Linked DNA regions of Homo sapiens: regions 1, 2 and 3 are each linked to region 4. Evidence: promoter capture Hi-C in 16 types of primary human blood cells and fetal thymus (Javierre and others, 2016). All regions are on one chromosome and are shown on one strand. The core of a region is centred on a gene start or on the middle of the fragment in contact, and the rest is flanking DNA. Distances in the headings are between cores, read along the strand shown. Region 1 overlaps ATP2A2 (ATPase sarcoplasmic/endoplasmic reticulum Ca2+ transporting 2). Region 2 has its middle 14 kb from the start of ATP2A2. Region 3 overlaps ATP2A2 (ATPase sarcoplasmic/endoplasmic reticulum Ca2+ transporting 2). Region 4 holds the start of IFT81 (intraflagellar transport 81).

Evidence for each region. The method cuts DNA at HindIII sites, captures the fragments that hold promoters and counts their contacts. A CHiCAGO score of 5 or more calls a contact.
Region 1: a contact is called between a fragment that was not itself captured here and the fragment with the promoter of IFT81 in region 4, in 5 of 17 cell types (endothelial precursors, megakaryocytes, M1 macrophages and 2 more). The highest score is 11.0, in endothelial precursors.
Region 2: a fragment that was not itself captured here is called in contact with the fragment with the promoter of IFT81 in region 4 in 3 of 17 cell types (endothelial precursors, M1 macrophages and erythroblasts); the score reaches 5.7 in endothelial precursors.
Region 3: a fragment that was not itself captured here is called in contact with the fragment with the promoter of IFT81 in region 4 in 4 of 17 cell types (endothelial precursors, M1 macrophages, naive B cells and 1 more); the score reaches 7.7 in endothelial precursors.

The regions. Positions count from the first base shown.
Region 1 is chr12:110,338,788-110,341,487 of GRCh38, forward strand. It overlaps ATP2A2 (ATPase sarcoplasmic/endoplasmic reticulum Ca2+ transporting 2), which reads left to right. Exons shown (of 20, transcript NM_170665.4): 12 at 494-616; 13 at 716-934; 14 at 1,872-2,207. Among named protein-coding and RNA genes, the nearest start is that of ATP2A2, 59 kb to the left of the region's middle. RefSeq lists enhancers at 207-306, 1,714-2,700. The HindIII fragment of the contact is 188 bases long and covers 1,182-1,369 here.
Region 2 is chr12:110,266,292-110,268,991 of GRCh38, forward strand. No RefSeq gene overlaps it. Among named protein-coding and RNA genes, the nearest start is that of ATP2A2, 14 kb to the right of the region's middle. The HindIII fragment of the contact is 5,355 bases long and covers 1-2,700 here.
Region 3 is chr12:110,285,122-110,287,821 of GRCh38, forward strand. The region is part of intron 3 of ATP2A2 (ATPase sarcoplasmic/endoplasmic reticulum Ca2+ transporting 2); the gene reads left to right. Among named protein-coding and RNA genes, the nearest start is that of ATP2A2, 5.2 kb to the left of the region's middle. The HindIII fragment of the contact is 2,316 bases long and covers 166-2,481 here.
Region 4 is chr12:110,122,910-110,125,609 of GRCh38, forward strand. It overlaps IFT81 (intraflagellar transport 81), which reads left to right and starts at 1,448. Exons shown (of 19, transcript NM_014055.4): 1 at 1,448-1,952. RefSeq lists a silencer at 1,262-1,531. The HindIII fragment of the contact is 3,777 bases long and covers 1,161-2,700 here.

The DNA.
Region 1 (2,700 bases), core at 26-2,525, 220 kb after region 4:
ATGACTTTTGAGGTCTTAATGACCTGCTTCTACCATCCTCTGCCATTACCTGCCTCACCTTTTGCTCATGTAAACTCTATTCCAGCCACGTTGGCACTCCTTTACCATTCCAGGACTTGCCAGGTTGCACTTCCGTTCTCTGCCTGGTGGGTCTTCACCACCACCCACTGGGTTCACACACATCTTTTCAGGCCCCATGGGGCCATCTTTATTCAAATGTCACCGCCTTCTGGCCACTTTATGTAACAGTTCATATGTATGTATGCAAATTTTCTATCCCCCTTCCCTTTTTCTCTATAGCACTTGTGTTACTTTTGCATCTTAGTCTGTCTCTCCCAAAATAGGGGACAAGTTTCATGAGGGCAAAAACCTGTCTGTTTTGTTTATTGCTATATTCCTAGCATCTGTCATGTAATAGGTGTGCTTACTGCTTGTTAGGTAAAAAAGTTCAGAAATTGCCACCCAGTAGTATCCATATTTGTTCCCTTTGTAGGTCATTAAACAGCTGATGAAAAAGGAATTCACTCTAGAGTTTTCACGTGACAGAAAGTCAATGTCGGTTTACTGTACACCAAATAAACCAAGCAGGACATCAATGAGCAAGATGTTTGTGAAGGCAAGTATGGCAGATTGCAATTGAGATGTTCTTGCCAGGGTTAAGATCCCGGTGAACCAATAAAACAAAATTGTTTATCTAAATCTGTAACATTTCCAGGGTGCTCCTGAAGGTGTCATTGACAGGTGCACCCACATTCGAGTTGGAAGTACTAAGGTTCCTATGACCTCTGGAGTCAAACAGAAGATCATGTCTGTCATTCGAGAGTGGGGTAGTGGCAGCGACACACTGCGATGCCTGGCCCTGGCCACTCATGACAACCCACTGAGAAGAGAAGAAATGCACCTTGAGGACTCTGCCAACTTTATTAAATATGAGGTTAGCTAATGAAAAGTTTCTTTGTCCACACCCTGCACGATTCATTGTGTTTAAACAGTACTCCTTCAAGCAAAAGGTCAAACAGTTCTCACTTTTGCCAAGAAAGAGGTGTGGTTATTTGTTTTTCTGCCTGCCAGCTGTGTCACCCTTAAAATTTGCTGCTTCAAACATACATAGTTAATAATTTCATAAAAGTGTTATTTTCAAAGTAGAATATTTTCAAAGTAGAATAATCAAGATGAGCTTAAGCTTGTAAACCCCATTTTGCCTCTCATCTAAATCATGATTTTTTTTAAATTGGTGACATTTCTAGAATATTCATTAGTTACTGAAGGTCAAAAGATCCAAGTTGGAGATTACTTCCACTTTTCTACTCAGAGTAGAATTCTTTTATATCAAGGATGTGACATCCTAAAGCTATGAACAAAATGAAGAAGCTTTGGTACTGTGGGCTCAGAATAGCACAAGAGTTAAAGAATGGTTTGATAACGGGTGTAGTGGTATTTTTTTTTCTCATAAGAAAATGCAAAAACCGCCAGGCACGGTGGCTCAAATGCCTGTAATCTCAGCACTTTGGGAGGCCGAGGCTGGCAGATCACCTGGGGTTGGGGGTTTGAGACCAGCCTGACCAACATGGAGAAACCACATCTCTACTAAAAATACAAAATTAGCCAGGTGTGGTGGCGCATACCTGTAGTCCCAGCTACCCTGGAGGCTGAGGCAGAAGAGTCTCTTGAACCTGGGAGGCGGAGGTCGCAGTGAGCTGAGATTGCGCCATGGCACTCCAGCCTGGGCAACAAGAGCGAAACTCCGCCTCAAAAAAAAAAAAAGAAAAAAAATGCAGAAACCTGTCTCAATGTTTAACTGGGCATTTTTCAAACTAGGGGACAAAAACTAGAACTTGCCACTTTTATTTAAAGTGATGCTCTTATTTTAGACCAATCTGACCTTCGTTGGCTGCGTGGGCATGCTGGATCCTCCGAGAATCGAGGTGGCCTCCTCCGTGAAGCTGTGCCGGCAAGCAGGCATCCGGGTCATCATGATCACTGGGGACAACAAGGGCACTGCTGTGGCCATCTGTCGCCGCATCGGCATCTTCGGGCAGGATGAGGACGTGACGTCAAAAGCTTTCACAGGCCGGGAGTTTGATGAACTCAACCCCTCCGCCCAGCGAGACGCCTGCCTGAACGCCCGCTGTTTTGCTCGAGTTGAACCCTCCCACAAGTCTAAAATCGTAGAATTTCTTCAGTCTTTTGATGAGATTACAGCTATGGTGAGCATGTTTGAACATGTACAGGTGACTCAGGCTACACAAGCACATAGTAGCCTCTAATTTTGACCACTGAATTTTTTTGTCATAGCTCCCTAATTTGGAATTTGTCATGATTTGGGTCTTTTCTCTAGAATTCGGTGAATCAGTGGTTAGCATGTTGTGTGCTACTTGCAGGGAAGATCCTAGAGTCGTTTAAAACCCAGAAGGGCCTTCCAGATCAGTCCCAGAGGAACAATCTGGTGATCTAGTCTCTTTTTTAAATGAGACGTGTTTTTATTGTAAGTTTTCTGAAAATTGAGGATGTAATCAGTCAGTTGTTTGGATCACCCTGCTTTTAAGTTCTTTAAGAGCTGGCTATTGATGAAGCATTTCCAGTATTCTTCCCCTCACCTGATTTTCACCCAGATACATTATGTTAAATTTACTTTCTTCTCTTTTAAAAAAAAATCTTAGTTTTGAAACATACTATAAGTGTACTCTCCTCTCCCCCAGA
Region 2 (2,700 bases), core at 195-2,694, 140 kb after region 4:
TTCTGTGCCTGAAATGTGTCTTAGTTTTAAAAACGGGGGTGGCGGGAATTTGAAGCCTCTATACCTTCAATAATGTCTCTGTATCTTCCATAACGTTAATGGATATGTTTGTTGTTACAAGATTAAATCAAATGGTTTACGTTTTAGGAGGGCTGGGCCTTAAGATCAGCCTAAGATGAAGGTGCCTGCAATGTCTCTCTACTAGTGCTGCCAGCCACGTGCAAGGCACATCACATGCACAGTCTCTCATGTAACTCACACGAAAACTACATGAGGTAGATTCAATTATCCACTCTTTATAATTGAGGAAATAGGGACACAGATTAAGTAGCTTGCCTAAGAGCATACAGTATTACCTGGTGCCTGCAATTCTCTGAATTTGTCTCTCCACGTTTTCCAAAAGGTGATGTTTTGAAGACTGTGATAATATTGAATCATGTGACTGGAAAAACAGGGCAAATCACAAGTTAAAACACACCCCCTGTCTAACATGTGCAAAGCCCTCTCTGAGGAGTCTCATTAGCCTGGAGCCTGGTTCTAATGCACTAAGCCCTTTACCTTCCCTCCCCACTGGACCCCCTTTTTAATTGACATTTAATTGCCTGTGGTCAGATCTCCTCCAATCCCTGTGCCTCTGGGCCCCTGATCTTAGGGGACTTGGGGAGCTAGACCTATATTTTCTTGGATTTCCACTGACTTCCCATTAAATTATTATCCCTGGGTACAGTGGACTCCGTGTGCATGTGTTGCTTTATTTCGCCTTTAAAGCATACAGCTTTAATTGGGCAATCACAATGCCTTTCTCCCATTATCGTCAGCAGGGAAGTAAGTAATCAAGCTCCCCATCTTAAAACTTCGGTAAAATGAGGTCAGCAAGATGTGTGGTATTGACATGGCACCCAGCAAAGGAAAATGACTCTTGGTGGCTCACATTGTTGTGGGGCTTGTTTGCGTTGCTGTGCAGTTGTAATGGAAAATGAATAAAAATAAAAATCCCGGGGCCCTTTTTGGCCAGCACTTGGGAAGTTAATCCCACTGTCCTGGCAGAATTCCAGCTCAGGTCACTGCATTCAGCTGGCGGAAGCCTCCTTGTGCAGCTTTCAGTGGAAGGGGAACTCTGCTTTACCACTTTTCTCAGCAACATGTGCTGCAAATTAAGCAGCTGTCCCTTCCCCACCCTGGACAGGGCTGCATTTCGTGACTCAGAATGATCCTCTCTCCCCTTGCCACAGCGGGGAGTAGGGACAGATCTGGGATCAGGAAATTAAACTGGTCCAAGAACCAGTTGAGGAGATATTTGCTATAATAAAAATCTTTGTGGGTCTCTGAGTGCTTCTGCGCAGTCAGAGAATCACAGATTCCTAGCATTAAAAGGTTTTCCAGGAGTCGTCTAGTTTCTTTCTAAAACCCCATGCATACATTCCCTCCATTTGTTTTATAACATTTTATTATGCAAATTTAAAGTGTTTCTATACCTGAAGTACTTAGAAGTTTTCTCTCCCCTCCTCACCTATCTACTTTTTTTTTTTTTTGAAATGGAGTCTTGCTCTGTCACCCAGGCTGGAGTGTAGTGCCGTGATCTCGGCTCACTGCAACCTCCACCTCCCGGGTTCAAATGATTCTCCTGCCTCAGCCTCCCAAGTAGCTGGGATTATGGGCATGTGCCACCAAGCCCCGCTAATTTTTGTATTTTTAGTAGAGACAGGGTTTCGCCATGTTGGCCAGGCTGGTCTCAAACTCCTGACCTCAAGTGATCCACCCACTTTGACCTCCACACCTATATAGTTTTGTTGCTTCTTTTCATTGTTTTACAGACTTTTAAAAAAATGTTTAACACTCTTTCCAATATGAAATGTATTGCATTTCTTTTCTTTTCTTTTTTGAGACAGAGTTTCACTCTTGCTGCCCAAGCAGTGGTGCGATCTCAGCTCACTGCAACCTCTGCCTCCCGGGTTCAAGCGATTCTCCTGCCTCTACAGGCACCTGCCACCATGCCTGCCTGGCTAGTTTTTTGTATTTTTAGTAGAGACGGGGCTTCACTATGTTGGCCAGGCTGGTCTCAAATTCCTGACCTCAGGTGATCCACCCACCTCAGCCTCCCAAAGTTCTGGGATTACAGGCATGAGCCACAGCGCCCAGCCGGATTGCATTTCATGGTGTTAGAAATAGATCCAAGCTAATTCTTCTCCCTACAAATAATCTTCTATTCCCAAAGATGTTTATTGAATAGTGATTTCTAATTTGTGTGACTTAACCTCTCTGAGAATCAACTTTCAGTACCTGGAAAAATAGGAATGATAATGATACGTACCAGACAGGCTTGTCCTAAGGATGCACTAAGACAACATGTGAAAAGGTCCCAGCACATTGCATGCATGGCAAATGCATGTCTATTAAATGGTGTCTTCCTTTTTGTCCCTTCCTTCTTTTGATTTATTTATTTATTTATTTTTATTTTTTGAGACCGAGTCTCGTTGTGTCACCCAGGTTGGAGTGCAGTGGAGCAATCTCAGCTTATTGCCACCTCCACCTCCCGGGCTCAAGCAATTCTCCTGCCTCAGCCCCCCAAGAAACTGGGACTACAGGTGAGCGCCACCACACCCAGCTAATTTTTGTATTTTTAGTAGAGAGAGGGTTTCACCATGTTGGCCACTCTCATCTCAAAGTCCTGATCTCAAGTGATCCGCCCACCTCAGCCTC
Region 3 (2,700 bases), core at 74-2,573, 160 kb after region 4:
TGACTTACTTCAAATATCAAACTAAGTAGTAAACTGTTAACTATAGTTAATATTTTGCTGTGGCATAGAATAGGAAGCTATGCTTGTGACCTGTAGGGATCTAGTTTAATTTGTAATATTGGCCAAAGTGTTTTTTTGAAACGGTCACTTGGATTGAAAGAAATAAGCTTCATCTTCCAGTGCATATGAACATTAGAAATTGCTTAATTTGACACTGAAGACCCCCCCTCTATCATTCACTTTATCTTTTCATTCTCTTCTTGATTACCAACTTTGTTCTAAATGTAACACATCGTATGGTTGCTTAACTGATGCCTGCCCTTTCTTCTCTTTTCCTGCTTTGTTAAGATATTTATTGAGCACCTGTCACAGACACTGGGGATACAGTAGTGAATAAAACAGACAGAGACCCTTACCTGGAGGATAATACTGCTGAGAAAAATAAAGCAAGGGGGTTTGGATATCAGAGTATGTGAAAGGGGGAACAGTTTTCAAATTGGGTGGTCCGGAAAGTTCTTGAGGAAGGTGACATTTGCGAAAAGATCTGAAGGAGGTGGGCATTAGGGCCATGTTGGTCTCCCATCTGTCTAAATCATAAAGTCATAATTAATATGGTAATAATTTGCATAGGTTTCTCTACCTTCCACCGTCGTTTCCCATGTCAGCTACTTAGATTGACCCTAAAATGCTAATAAAACTTTCTAGACTGTGGTACTTCTCAACCTTTAGGTTACATTTGACCATTTGCATGTGTGTGTCTCTTTTCTTCCTACTAGACCCCCTTGAGTTAGTGCTTTTTTTTTTTTTTTTTTTTAAATGTAGATGGAGTCTCACTCTTGTTGCCCGGGCTGGAGCGCAGTGGTGCAATCTCGGCTCACTGCAACCTCCACCTCCTGGGTTCAAGTGATTCTCCTGCCTCAGCCTCCTGAGTAGCTGGGATTACAGATGTCCACCACCACGCCCGGCTAATTTTTGTATTTTTAGTAGAGATGGGGTTTACCTTTGTTGGCCAGGCTGGTCTCGAACTCCTGACCTCAGGTTATCACCTGCCTCAGCCTCCCAAAGTGCTGGGATTACAGGCATGAACCACTGCGCCTGGCCTAAGTTAGTGCTTTTGATGTCACAAAAACTTGGGTGAGTTTGTTTCAGTAGAATTTTCTGAAAATACATGAGATCTTTTTACTGTAGTTTCTCAGAAGAGAATACTCAAAGCATTTGATACTGGATTTGTAGTGATTTTAATTTTCTTCTGTATCTTTTAATTTTTGATTTTAAAAATGGGATAAGAAGGGCAAATTACTGATTGGTTTAACTAGTTTATTCAGAGCTTTTCTTAAAATAATGACTTGAAAGGTGGATTTAATAGAGTACTTTTTAAAAAGATTGTTTTCTCATGCCTGAAAGCATTGAATGTTTTTACATAGCTTTATATCTGGATCAGAAGGGAACGAGTTCTAATTCATGCTTTTTTTTCCGTTTTATTAATGACTGAAAGTCCTCCCCCAGAAATTATCGTAACGTTTATTGGTAATTCTCTGTATCATTCTCGAAATGTTTAATTTCCATTTCCTCTTTATTTAAAAAAAAAAAAAAACTTGATGTAAATTTCTTCATTTATTGAGCAATTGTTTGAGGGCCCAAAGGCACAGTGCAAGTTTCTGAGAATACTAGGAGCAAAATGTGCTTATGATCTTTTTAAGCACTTTTTTCTTTCGTTTTCTTTTTATGATACTAAGAGCTCTTCCTATTATCACAGTGTATAGATATCTGAGTCACAATATCATGACTGTCTCCCAGTTTACAGCAGAACGTGCTTTTTACCTTGGATTAAAATTTGCTTTATTTGGCCGGGTGCAGTGAGTGGCTCATGCCTGTAATCCCAGCACTTTGAGAGGCCGAGGTGGGTGGATCATTTGAGGTCAGGAGTTCGAGACCAGCCTGGCCAACATGGTGAAACCCCACCTGTACTAAAAATACAAAAATTAGCCAGGCGTGGTGGTGGGTCCCTGTAATCCCAGCTACTCAGGAGGCTGAGGCAGGAGAATCGCTTGAACCCGGGAGGCGGATGTTGCAGTGAGCCGAGATTGCGCCACTGCACTCCAGCCTGAGTGACAAAGTGAGACTCCGTCTCAAAAAAAAATTTTTTTTTTGCTTTAGTATACTTATCAGAAGTATAATGCAGTACAGAGTGTTGTACAGTATTTCAGTGCTGTACAGAGATTAATCTTGTGGATAATAATTGGGAGATACTCTATCCCTACTCTATTTTTAACAGTTTAATGTAGTTGAGTGTTCATTAGCAAGTGGTTACTTTGAATAATACTGGCACATTTGAAGCATTGAACTTGTTTGATAATGTATGTCCCAGAAGACAGGTATTATTGTATTTAGCACAAAGCAAAGGGAAGAAGAAACACTGTTTATGTCCAAAACTATGGGGCAGTGGTCTTCTCTTTTACTTTTCTTTGCTGCTGTTCATGAAGCTTGTTACCTTTTCGCTGTCTTTTTTTTGAGACGGAGTCCTGCTCTGTCGCCCAGATTGGAGTGCAGTGGTGCGATCTTGGCTCACTGCAACCTCCACCTCCCAGCTTCAAGTGATTCTCCTGCCTCAGCCTCCCGAGTAGCTGGGATTACAGGCATGCACCACCACGCCCGGGTAATTTTTTGTATTTTTAGTAGAGACGGGGTTTCTCCATGTTG
Region 4 (2,700 bases), core at 198-2,697:
TTGTTGCCTTGGTCTCTCAAAGTGCTGAGATTACAGGCGTGAGCCACGGTGCCAGGCCTAATTTTTACTGATCCTTAAACATCACTCCATTTGACAGAAACTTTCCTGATGGTATGGCCCCTTTGGCACCACCCTCCCCAAATAAACTTGAGGCCCTTAATCTGGGCTCCTAATCATTGGCTTCTCTTGTTACAGCATTTATCTCAATTGTATTGGTGTTGCCCCTTTAATAATCTCTGCCGGCACTAGACTGTCAGCTCCATCAGGGCAGGGGCCAGGTAAGTCCTGCCCTTCTGCATTTCCAGCAGCCTGTACAGTACAGGGCATATAGGAAATGCCTAATACGTAATCTGTTATTTTTTGTTGTGGTAAGTCTGATGCTAAAGCTATAGTTGGTTTCTCCTATGCTGTTTGAGCAGGCAACTAAGTTTTCAAGGTATCAATAATTTGATTTTTTTTCCTTCTCTTTCTTTCATTGCCAGCTGATATCACTAAGTATCGTGGTCTCTAGTCTAATAGAGGTTGGTTCAAAATACCATTTGCCAACTAAGGTCTCCCACAAACCAGCTAGTGCAAATTCCAGTAGACTTTTAAACCTCATCAGTGACTGGGCACAAAGATCTCCCTGCGTCCTGCGTGGGATGTGAACTCCATGAAGACCACAAGGAGGATTTAATTTATTTCTGCAGTCACCTAAAGAGAGCCCACTCAGAAGCCAAAGGAACATTAGGACACTTAGTTCTCCCACACCCCCTTTCAGGCTCTCAGCATACTCAAAACGTATTGGGTTTAAAAAAATTTAATTCCCAGTACAGGCAATGTGGCCCAGTAATGTGACACAGAAGCTGAAATCTCTATGATGAATGTGTCTTCTTTTAATCCTGCCAGAGCCTCACTACAATTGTTCCTATGCATAACCTAATTTGGAGATACTTATGTCAAAAACCTAAATTTGAAGCACTGGCCAAATGCTTGCTCATCCCAACCCCCCTACCACCCAGCCCTGCCTCAAAAACAAACAAAAATCATCACCCACGTTTGGCGCATGAATGCATGCATGCATGCATGAATGAATGAATGAATGAAACATCACACGCATTTAACATAGGTTAATCATGCAGAGAGTATTTTGTAAACTGCGAAGTGCAGGACTTTCGGGAAGCTTATTGTAGCGCGTCTAGGTCGGAGTAACAGTCCCAAATGCCCTCGGCTGTCTGCAGTGGCTCAGCACGTGGGCCCGCTTTGCAAGTAAGCCCGGCTCCCGTCCGCCCCGTCCGCCCCGCCCCGTCCCGCCCCGTCCCGTCCGCTCCGCCCCGCCCCGCCCCGTCCGCTCCGCCCCGCGCCCGTCCTCCCCGCCCTGGCCCGGCCCCGCCCCCCAGCTCGTGCGCGCGCGCGCGGGAGAGCGGCCGCTCGCCCGGAAGTGACGTAACTCTACGGCCTAGCAACCGTTGCCAAGGAGCTCGACTCTGGGAGCGGTCTAGAGCCCGGGCGCCTCCTGGGGGGTGGGGAAACGGTTTCGTGAGGAGAATTTGAGGTAACCTCGCCAACTCGCGGTCGGAAGCTCCTCTGAACCCCGAAATAGGAGAGAGCTCCCGTCCTCTCTCGGTCCTGATGCAGCACCTCGCAAGTGGAAGGGGTCGTCGCGGTTAAGCCCCCGGATAGGGGAATCGGGCCCCTTCTGGGATTCGAGCGGATCCAGGCCGCTCCCTGGAGGGATGAACTGTCGAGGGGCCCAGGGCAGCCCCCGCTAGAGGCCCGGTCGGGTGTGGGGTCCCCTGTCCCCTGTCCCGAGCCCGGGGAGGGGGACACTATTTCTGGTACTCCCAGGAGGCTGCGGGTCGATGCTCGTGCCAGCCTGGGACCCAGGCAGCACGGTTTCTCTCCCAAATTGTGCCAGAGAACACGCACGTCCTGGTTTTCATTGTTCCCCGCCTCCTGCGACTCGTTTGTGGGTGAGTGCTTGGGAATTAGCGCGGCGACTTCGCGCTAGAAGAGGGACAGTAATTGCTTTTGCTAATTTTAGAGCGCAGAGCCCGCTGGGCACAGACAGCCTTCCTGTTCAGTACATCTTTGTCCTTATCGAGTGACCATTTTTGCAGGCTGGTGGGCGACTTGGGGGGAACCCAACTGGTTTATTTTGCCTTCCTGGAAACGTTGTACTAGTTTATCCAGATTTTTTTTTAAGGGAAAAAAGAGTAGACCTATAGATAATTTCTAAATCATTTAAAATGAAATACATATTTCTGCACGCAAAGGTTATGACGTGGACTTTTACTTAAAATACTTTAAACAATGGAAAACTTGCACTTCCAATATGGATTTTAAAAAAAAACTTACGTAAAGGTTTTCCTTTTATAGCTTAAAGGAAACCTCAGATTTATTATAAGCCATGGTGGTTATCCTTCCTATCCTCTTTTGACTTATTTCTTAGCAATAATAATTATTTGTGCGTAATTTTTCATCATTGTGGAGAAATTATCTTTTTTATTTTATTTTTTCTGTTGAGACGGAGTCTCTCTCTGTCCCCCAGGCTGGAGTGCAGTGGCGCGATCTCGGCTCACTGCAACCTCCGCCTCCCGGGTTCAAGCAATTCTCCTGCCTCAGCCTCCCAAGTAGCTGGGACTACCGGCGCCCGCCACCACACCTGGCTAATTTTTGTATTTTTAGTAGAGACCGGGTTTCACCATGTTGGCCAGGCTG